Regions from separate parts of the Homo sapiens genome. Here region 2 is linked to region 1. Evidence: promoter capture Hi-C in human tissues and cell types (Jung and others, 2019). All regions are on one chromosome and are shown on one strand. Each heading gives the region's core, a stretch centred on a gene start or on the middle of the fragment in contact. The rest is flanking DNA. Distances are from core to core; before and after follow the strand shown. Region 1 holds the start of C11orf24 (chromosome 11 open reading frame 24). Region 2 overlaps KMT5B (lysine methyltransferase 5B).

Region 1 (5,145 bases), core at 1,552-4,051:
AAATGTCATATCTACAAGGTCTTACATTCAAATAACATTGTAAATTCAACAACAAAGAGACCAAGCTCCAAGTTTATTCAGCTATTTCTGCACAGAAGGCACCTGAAATGATCTGTGCCTGGAAACAAAAGGTAGAGGATGTAAGTGTATCATTCTCTATTTTATCCACAGCCCTCAGAAGCAGCTGGTCTGCCTGGCTTTACTCTCCATAACACTCCACAGAACAGTTTTGCAGTTCCCAGAGCTGTGCCTTCAATGGACACTAGGTTTCAGGTGACCAAAGATGCTATCAGAGAATATGACTTTCTCATAGGAGAGAATGAGTTTCCCGGTATGTTGGACCATCTCAGCCAGATATTTCTGTGTCAGAAACCCATCAGTAACACTCTAGACTGGAGATCAGCAAATAGATTCTGTAAAGGGCCAGAGAGTAAATATTTTAGGACTTGTGAGCCATATAGTCTCTACAACTAGTCGACTGTGCCCTTTTATCATCAGATAATACCTAATGAAGAGGCATGACTCTGTTCCAATAGAAATTTAAGAAAGCAGATGGGCTGGGCGCGGTGGCTCACGCCTGTAATCCCAACACTTTGGGAGTCCAAGGCGGGCGGATCACTAGGTCAGGAGATCAAGACCATCCTGGCTAACATGGTGAAACCCCGTCTCTACTAAAAATACAAAAAATTAGCTGGGCGTGGTGGCGGGCGCCTGTAGTCCCAGCTACTCGGGAGGCTGAGGCAGAAGAACGGCGTGAACCCGTGAGGCGGGGCTTACAGTGAGCCGAGATGGCGCCACTGCACTCCAGCCTGGGCGACAGAGCAAGACTCCGTGTCTAAAAAAAAAAAAAAAAAGCAAGCAGATGGAGGTCTAGCTGCCCAGCTGCTCTAGAGGAGAGGCTGTGTCTTATGTTTGTAATTTCAGCCCCAGCAGTAAAAATTGTCCCTATGTTGCCAAAGAGGAAATGAAAACAGAGTCACAGTCATTGATTTTTTTTTTTTTTTTTTTTTTTTTTTTTAGAAGGAGTCTCGCTCTGTCGCCCAGGCTGGAGTGCAGTGGTGAGATCTCGGCTCACTGAAGCCTCCCCCTCCCAAGTTCAAGCAATTTTCCTGTCTCAGACTCCCGAGTAGCTGGGAATACAGGCACACGCCACCACGCCTGGCTAATTTTTATATTTTTAGTAGAGACGGGTTTCACCATATCGGTCAGGCTGGTCTCAAACTCCTGACCTCAGGTGATCCGCCCGCCTTGGCCTCCCAAAATGTTGGGATTACAGGCGTGAGCCACCGCGCCCAGCCCAGTCATTGATTTTTGAAAAGGGCAGGCAAAGAACTAAAATCTGCCTGCCGATTGTATATTTTCACTTCTGGAGTGAGCCTCAATACTGTACTTCATGTTAGATCCGAACTAGTTGGAAAAATTAAAGCAAATACATAGTGAAAGGATCTGATCTTCACATGATCCAACCGGCGTTGGGTCTCAGCAAACCCAACTTTGCAGGTTAAATTCCACACATGAACTGTGGTTGAACTGGGGATGGTGGTGGTGACATCAAATCGCATTTCAGGTGCTCCCAGAGCTCGGAGTGGATGGTAGATCCTGTCTTTGCCCAATCTCAGCTTTCTGTGTCTCTTAGCTTCCTAGCCGAAGACCCCAAGGCAGGTTATAAAACTGGAAATAAAGTCTTGGTTTGCTCCTGTGAAATCATCCTTCGCAGACAGGTTTTGGTTTGGACCGGGGGATGCCTGAGGGTCTTATACAGACTGGGATTCAGTCACAGAACTACTAACTTGCAAAGCCTATTTCTTTCTTTCTTTTTTTTTTTTGGAGACAGAGTCTCGCTCTGTCGCCCAGGCTGGAGTGCAGTGGCACGATCTCTGCTCACTTCAACCTCCACCTCCCAGGTTCAAGCAATTCTCCTGCCTCAGCCTCCCGAGTAGCTGGGACTACAGGCGCACGCCACCACGCCCGGCTAATTTTTTGTATTTTAGTAGACACAGGGTTTCACCATGTTGCCCAGGCTGGTCTCGAACTCCTGAGCTCAGATAATCCGCCCGTCTCGGCCTCCCAAAGTGCTAGGATTACAGGCAAGAGCCACCGCGCCTGGCCTGCAAAGCCTATTTCTAACCAAAGTCAAGTCCCACACACTTGCCTCTAAATTGCGTTTTGCTCCTTTGTTATCCCAGGTTTTACAATTACAGAGCACTTGATGAGCCTGTTTCCACGTCTGTAAAATGAGGCGAAGTTCTTCACTGTGCTATTGCAGAATTAAGCCACTGGCTCTATAGGCAAAGTGCTTAGCACGGGCGTGGCACGCTGCGGGTGCACAGAAACGCTCGCTGCCACCCCACCCTTAACTACCGGGCACCCCAGCGCCCCGCCAGGGGCTGAAGAAACGTGGGAGGAAGCGGAGGAACGCGAAGGGCGTGTGCCCGCGAAAGGTCTCACGAGGCGTTTCGAGGTCGCCTCTTCAGGCTCGGCTGCCGACAAGGTGCCTCTGAGCTCACCCAGCCCAACCCGCGCACCCCGGGACCCCAAGACGGCAGCGGGCACAGCTGGGCAGCAGAGACCCGGGAACACCCACTTCCGCCACAGACCTGCTCAAAATAGCTCCTTCTGGCAGCGCGCAAGAAGTGGCCCGAGCCGGCCCCGGGGAGGCGGGGCCTGAGAGCAGACAACCCCCCCACTTCCGGCTCGCCTCCGTTCGCCACAGGCCCCGCCGCAGCCGCTCTTCGCCCCGGCCAGCAGGCCCGCCCCGCCCTCCGTGACGTCATTTCCGGCGTTTGGGCGGGGCCCGGGCAGGGCGCGCTGCCCGGAGCTGCCTGGGTTGCGCTGCCGGCCACGTCCCCGCGCCGGGCCTCAGGCTCCTTCCTACTGTCCGAGGGCCACCAGGCCGCCGGGGGCCTGCTGCGCCCGGGTAAGGGGCTCGCACTGCCGTCCGGGTAGCTGCTGTCAGGGCTCCCTGACTGGCTTGGGACTGAGAGACAGAGGTTGGGGGGCAGGAGGAGGGTTGGATGGGGGCACGAGGGGCAGTGGGAGAGTGAGTGGGGCTGAGAGAGGCAGGAGGAACGGGACAGGAGGAGCGGCGGATGGGGCACGCACAGAGTGCAAGACGCTGAGCAATGCAGGTACTGAAGAAGTCAACTGGGGGCCGAGCATGGCTGGGGGCCCAAGAGACAGGAGGAGGGAGGAGGGCCGAAGGGGGCCCAGACTGGAGAAGAGGCCGGCTTGTCCCATTGTGGGAGCAGAATGGGGACACTCTGGAAGGGGGCCGAATTTGTCCTGGGGTCTTTCCCGGGCAAGCCCAGGACGGGACTGGACCCCAAGAAGTGTCGCTCTTACTTGAGTGACACAGACCTATCCCCCAGACCCTCTCTCTACCTGGGTGGAGGTTGTGCATTGCCCCAGATTCCCTCCCCTGCCCATCTGTCTCCCTGCCTGCTTCCCCCGTGCGAGTCACTTAGTAGCCCCCGTGTGGCTGCTTAGCATGTTGACTTAATCGTTAGGCTGATAGGAGGAATCGGCCTCCACACGCATGGTTTGCCACCAGAAATAATCATCGTGCTTAGAAATCTGACTGTAATAACTTGCAGCTATCCCTCGCCCCAGGAAAATCTCTAACATTTCGATAAAATCAGCTAGGAAAATCTTTAAAATACAGATGTTTCCATTTATACAGTGGATCTGCCTAATGGACAAAGGAATGTCAGAGCTACCCACGTTCTTAGCAAAAACTAGGCCCTAGTATTTAGCTGTGTTACCAAAACTTCCAGAAACCTGGAAGCAAGCAAGGTAGTTAATGTAATATAATAAATGTCCAATGTTCTAGGTTCCCGTCTGCCACAGAGTCACATCCTTTGGACTACAGGACAATGTCTATATACACAAAGCCATAAGTCTGTGTTCCTTGGGCTTCTGCTACCAAAGTTCAGCCAGGTGACGTGTCAGGATTAGGTACCTGCAGTTTGCCCTGTATTTGTGTTTGCAGTTCCTACTCCTTGGTATCTGTAGCTTGCCTAACTTGGTGTGGGGGCCTGGCCATGTTGCGGCTGAGTGAGTCTTAATAGCCTGATAGAATGTGGGGGTAACAGCTGTAGTCCTTTACCAAGCTTCAGGATTGGTCTTTGGAACCTCTCTATGCCAGAAAAAAAGAATTAAGTTATTTCTTTCCCTTTTTTTTTTTTTTTAAGAGATGGGGTCTCACTATGTTGCCCAGGCTGAACTCAAACTTCTGGGCTTGTAATCCTCCCACCTCAGCCTCCTGAGTGTCTGGGATTACAGGCATGCAGCACCACGCCTGGAGTCCAGTTTTGTGTAACTTGCATAAAGTGCGCCACATATAACAAGCCAAGGTTCGGAACACAAGAATTCAGACAAGATGCCTTGGGAGGCATCTCGAGGTCATGAACCAGAAAAGGATAGGGAGGTTGACACCCAGGGGCATAGTTGGGGGTGCCTTTGTCATGGAGTGTCACATGGCTCAAGGGAGTATCCTGTTGCACCTTCCTTGCAGATCCTATGGGGAGCTGACCCCTGAAGAAGGGAGCTCCCAGTGCCAGCCTAACCTTCCGTCTTTCCATCTGCCCTGGTCTCCAACTTAATACAAACTTAATTCTCTCTCGCTCATTCCCCTCCTGCCCCTGGGGTCTCTTTTTTCCCATCTATTATGGTCTGAGACCCTGATCTACCCAGTCTCCCTGTACCACATAATAATGAGAATAACTGGTGGGGTCCCGAGACCCACATCCTAATTTTGGCTTGAAGCCTTTGCAGGGGAAACTGTTATTTTAAATGTTGTTAATGGTTTGTCCATCATGAGTCAACTTACATAGATGACCACAGGTTCCCGCATGGGATCTTGACATTTAGAATATTCTGTTGGAAAGTGGAGGCAGGACCATAGCAGAGGGATGAAGTCATAGGACAATGAAGGCCTGTTCTCGACTACACAGTGGCCAATTCCTGTTTCTGTGGGAGTGACCACCAGCCCCACCGGCTGGGAGGGAGTAAGTGGTGATGGTATCCAGCAGAAGTTTCCTGAGAAACCCGTGGAGTGTCCTGATATAGCCTTGTGGACCTGCTCCGTGTGTGTGCCCTCACCTTTGTGTGTGTGATTTTGCATGTGTATGTGTGTGCCTGTGTGAG
Region 2 (5,145 bases), core at 1,570-4,069, 64 kb after region 1:
CGTGGTCAGGAGTTCCCCGACTATGTCAGCCTTAGAACGCTCTGATGGTTAAGAATCTTCCTCACACTTTTGACGATAGGGACCATGTGTCCTCCCTCCGCTCCATCACCCTGTTAGCTACAATACTGCATGTTAAGTAAATGCAGGGGGTGATCCATTATGTGTCTGGATGGGGTTGATTTGGGGCTAGCCGGTCTCCGAATGAGACAGACTTGAACACCAGGCCATCTTCTAGGGCCGTATGTCAAATGATGACTGCTGTATAGAAGTGTAATTTTAGGAATAGTTGAAGGACCATGGAATAAGAATCAATTCTTATTCCATTCTCTGCTCTATCACTGTTTGTATAAGTCATTGATAGGGCCTAGACTCCGTCTACAAAACGACTCTGAGGTCACTTCCAATCCAAAATTGTATTAATGCTTCATCTTTTACACTTCACTGCCATCCTATTTTCTCCTAATAATTATTTTAATCATATTTTGACATCTCTCTAATCACCTTAGTTCATCTGCATGTTTCATGTAGTTTTACCTCCTTTTTTTGAAATGTCATTATGAGATAGTTAATCAGTTGGGTTTTAGAATTGAGAGACTAGGGTATCAGTGTCCCCCCCCCCAAAGCTTGATTGGGGGCCTGTATGACTCCTACAATGCCAGTTGCATTTCTATAAGCTGTCTTAGTTTGTCTGTTGTAATAGCACACTAAAGAAAACAGTACCGGCCGGGTACGGTGGCTCACGCCTGTAATCCCAGCACTTTGGGAGGCCGAGGCGGGTGGATCACGAGGTCAGGAATTGAGATCATCTTGGCTAACACGGTGAAACCCCGTCTCTACTAAAAATACAAAAATTAGCCTGTAGTCCCAGCTACTCCGGAGGTTGAGGCAGGAGAATGGTGTGAACCCGGGAGTTGGAGGTTGCAGTGAGCAGAGATGGCTCCACTGCACTCCAGCCTGGGCGACAGAGCAAGACTCCGTCTCTTAAAAAAAAAAAAAAAGGGGGAAAGAAAACAGTACCTAGATCCGGGGATCATTTGCTGGTGATAAACCTCTAGGTGGTACACGTGGCTCAAGCACTGGAGTAAACCCCAGACTGCAGTTTAAAGATGAAGGTTTTAGACCCACCCTTACCACTTAGTAGCACTTTGAGTTTAGGAAAGCAATTTGTTTCTGAGCTTTAGCCTCCTTGTTGTAGTGCTAATACCTGTTTCACCTGATAGGGTTGCTGAGCTAGCGAATCCCGAGTCCTGCATGTTAGGGGAACCAGTAGAAACCGAATGTGTGTGTTGTGACACCTGTGTTTCTACCTTGTGCCACCTTTATAGGAATGCCTGGTCAGCACATCTCTAATGGCACTCGGCTTGCTTCTCAGGCCTTACGCAAAAGGCCCATTCAGTGAAGGGTCATTCTGCTTCCTAGTCTGTACTTTTCTACCCTGTTAACTTTTTTTCCCCTTATGCATCTGTTTGGTTTTCTTCCCTGACTCAACGACTGATTTTCCTGAAAGTAGAAGCTCTCATACGCCCTCTAGTGTTCCCTGGACATGACCAGTATTCCAGCACCACGAACAGTGCCTGGCAGCTCTGGGAGGTTCTTCATAAGTTTGTTGAACTGAGTGGATTCTAGGTCGGCCCGATGAATTGTTTTGCCTGTCTGATTTGTATAACACGGTTGAAATGTATGATACATTTTAATGGTCTCTGAGGAGTATTTTTATTTTCGAGGCAATGTTTATGTTGCATCATATGGAGAAATAGATATTTTTAGTAAGAAAACCAATCTGATTTTAGGAAGCTGCAGCTTTCCTCACTGAGAAGTAAAAGGGGGCTTGATCCTTCAGCCAGTGAGCCAGTGGCACCATAGGAAACCCCCCTTCACTTTCCCCCTTGGAAAGGAAACAAAACCAGACGTCATTCAGGGTCCTGGAGGGTTTAAAGCAAATATTTGTTTGGTGCATATAAATAAGTACCAGGAGGGCTTTTGACCCAAAAAAGGTATTTTTTGTTTGTTTGTTTTTGAGACAGGGTCTTGTAGCCTCCCAGGCTGGAGAGCAGTGGCATAATCCCAGTTCACTGCAGCCTTAGTCTCCTGGGCCCAAGCAATCATCTCGCCTTGGCCTCCCAAAGTGCTGGGATTATAGGATGAGCTGCCATGTCTGGTCTTGTTTTTATATTTACAATTTTGATTTATATTTCCCTGATCATCCCATCTCAAGTCCATTCTTACATTAGTCTCTCTCCTAACATCCTGTTTGTTTTTCTTACAGCTCGCATCAGATTGATAACCACATACTTACTTACATCTCTTCCCATAGTATGCTCTGACCTCTATGCAGTCAGGAACGATGTCTATTTTGCTCTAGAGTTTTACTCTTCAAATATGGGGCACAGTGGTTTTTTTGTTTGTTTGTTTGGAGACAGAGTCTCACTCTGTTGCCCAGGCTGGAGTGCAGTGGCGCGATCTTGGCTCATTGCAACCTCCACCTCCCAGGTCCCGGTTCATGCAATTCTCCTGCCTCAGCCTCCCGAGTAGCTGGGATTACAGCCACATGCCACCACGCCTAGCTAACTTTTGTATTTTTAGTAGAGACGGGGTTTCACCATGTTGGCCAGGCTGGTCTTGAACTCCTGACCTCGTGACCCTCCCGCCTCGGCCTCCTAAAGTGCTGGGATTACAGGCGTGAGCCACCGTGCCTGGCTTGGGCGAAGTGTGTTTAAAAATTTGTTTGGGGCCAGGCGTGATGGCTCACGCCTGTAACCTCAGCACTTTGGGAGGCCGAGACAGGTGAATCACGTGGTCAGGAGTTCAAGACCATCCTGGCCAACATGGTGAAACGCTGTCTCTACTGAAAATACAAAAATTAGCTGGGCGTGGTGGTGGGCACCTGTAATTCCTGCTACTCGGGAGGCTGAGACAGAGAATTCCTTGAACCTGGGAGGCAGAGGTTGCAGTGAGCAGAGATCGTGCCACTGCACTCCAGCCTGGGCAATAGAGCGAGACAGCGTCTAAAAAAATAAAAAATTTGTTTGGGTCATTATTCTGTGTTGTTTTTTGGTTTGTTTTTTTTTTTTTTTTGAGATGGAGTCTCACTCTGTTGCCCAAGCTGGAGTGCAGTGGCACGATCTTGGTTCACCACAACCTCTGCCTCCTGGGTTCAAGCGATTCTCCTGCCTCAGCCTCCCGAGTAGCTGGGACTACGGGCAGGTGCCACCATGCCTGGCTAATTTTTGTATTTTTAGTAGAAATGGATTTTCACTATGTTCGCCAGGCTGGTCTCGAATTCTTGACCTCGTGATCCGCCCACCTCGGCCTCCCAAAGTGCTGGGATTACAGGCGTGAGCCACCGTGCCTGGCCTGTGTTGCTTTTTTGTGTGATATTAACAGTACACAGTCTCTCAGCCTGGACTTCACTTCAGTTTTTTTTCTAATTCTCTGAGTTTTGTTCTCATTTGTAAAATGGGGATGATAGTATTGAGTGTGTGTTAAAGGGCAGTGATGTTTGTATCTTCTTTTATAGGGTGTGAAAATAATCTGTTTGACCAGGTACACCACAAACTAAACTGTGTTGTAAGAAGCTCTGTAGTCCAGTCTGTGGTCCCTCTGAATGTTTAGGATGGGAGATGTAGCTTGGCATGATTTTTTTTTTTTTTTTGAAACGGAGTCTCGCTCTGTCGCCGAGGCTGGAGTGCAGTGGCGCAATCTTGGCTCACTGCAAGCTCCGCCTCCCAGGTTCACACCATTCTCCTGCCTCAGCCGCCACCATGCCCGGCTAATTTTTTGTATTTTTAGTGGAGACGGGGTTTCACCGTGTTAGCCAGGATGGTCTCGATCTCCTGACCTCGTGATCCGCCCGCCTCAGCCTCCCAAAGTGCTGGGATTACAGACGTGAGCCACTGTGCCCTGCTGCTTGGCATGATTTTTAATCATGCGTGTTGCAGCCAGAAGTTACATTCCTTCTCTTTGGGAACTGTAGGGAAAGCAGAACTGGTGCTCAGCCTTGTGTCATAATTATTCTTTTGCACATTTGTTCTTTTTTAAATGGGTGAGGTGATGAGATTTTTTTTTTCATGTGTGAGTTATGGTGGGGAATAGAAGGGAAATTTCTACTTGATTAAAGTTTTGTGAAGAATGTTTCTGGCCTGCTTTACTTTTGCCTTAGTTACTTGGAAGGGGAGACCTTAATTTGTTAGCAGTTTGTGCTCATTTAAAATATCTTGTGCCAAACCTAGGGAGGCCTTCTTTTCATTGTACTGGTGGGGCATCGGTGAAGTTAAATAACTCGTCTGCTCACACTGCTGGGGTAAGGATGAAGCTAGGGTGGGACAGGTGCTTTGACTGCAGAGCCACATCCTTAATCCCTGTGCGGGCTGCCTCTGCAAAGCCCACCAGCTGGCAAACTCAAAGTGGCCTCTAACGTCCAGCCCAAGAACCACCTTTTGGAAGCTTTTCCTCACACTTGTCCTTGCCCAGTAAAAATCTTTGATGTACTTCTTGTAACTTCTGACAGAAACTGTGGGCTGTAAAGGCTGTACTTACAGTCATTTGACACTAGGTGGCATCTGTTTCTAGAACCGTGAATGGCTGTTTGAGTCCTAGAGAAAACAGTAACAAAGAAAGCATCCTTGATTTTATTTCTAGGCACTGCTAGGTAAGCAGATGGATCAAATGTGGAGAGATGGGGGAAGCAGGCATTTTTTGTTTTCTTCTGGAAGTTTTTTTGAGGACTTTCCCTCAACAACCCCATCAGTGAAAACCTTTGTTTTAAAATAACTACTGAGATGAAGACATGAAGTCTTTCTTACATGACATCCCTCGTCGTAAATACGTATTGAATGTGATATTTAAGAATGAAGCAGTATTTTCTGTGATAAGGCAATTAGGAGTTTCTTACATGTCTGGCTGTAGATCAGTAGCCAAATAAGTAAGTCTAAGAATTGCGAACGTCTGGCCGGGCGCGGTGGCTCACGCCTGTAATCCCAGCACTTTGGGAGGCCGAGGTGGGTGGATCTCGAGGTCAGGAGATTGAGACCATCCTGCCTAACACGGTGAAACCCTGTCTGTACTAAAAATACAAAAAGTTAGCTAATTGTGGTGGCGGGTGTCTGTAGTCCCAGGTACTCAGGAGGCTGAGGCAGGAGAATGGCT

What was found. Contacts are between HindIII fragments. The study calls those that stand out against the background at their distance.
Region 2: a fragment that was not itself captured here is called in contact with the fragment with the promoter of C11orf24 in region 1 in 1 of the 25 tissues and cell types used here (bladder).

Annotation. Positions count from the first base shown.
Region 1 is chr11:68,269,629-68,274,773 of GRCh38, reverse strand. It overlaps C11orf24 (chromosome 11 open reading frame 24), which reads left to right and starts at 2,801. Exons shown (of 4, transcript NM_022338.4): 1 at 2,801-2,917. LOC105369363 (a long non-coding RNA gene) reads right to left here and starts at 2,672. Exons shown (of 3, transcript XR_950248.3): 1 at 2,598-2,672. RefSeq lists silencers at 665-724, 2,604-3,003 and an enhancer at 1,838-2,692. The HindIII fragment of the contact is 13,528 bases long and covers 1-5,145 here.
Region 2 is chr11:68,205,721-68,210,865 of GRCh38, reverse strand. The region is part of intron 1 of KMT5B (lysine methyltransferase 5B); the gene reads left to right. Among named protein-coding and RNA genes, the nearest start is that of KMT5B, 5.0 kb to the left of the region's middle. RefSeq lists a silencer at 4,469-4,558. The HindIII fragment of the contact is 5,675 bases long and covers 1-5,145 here.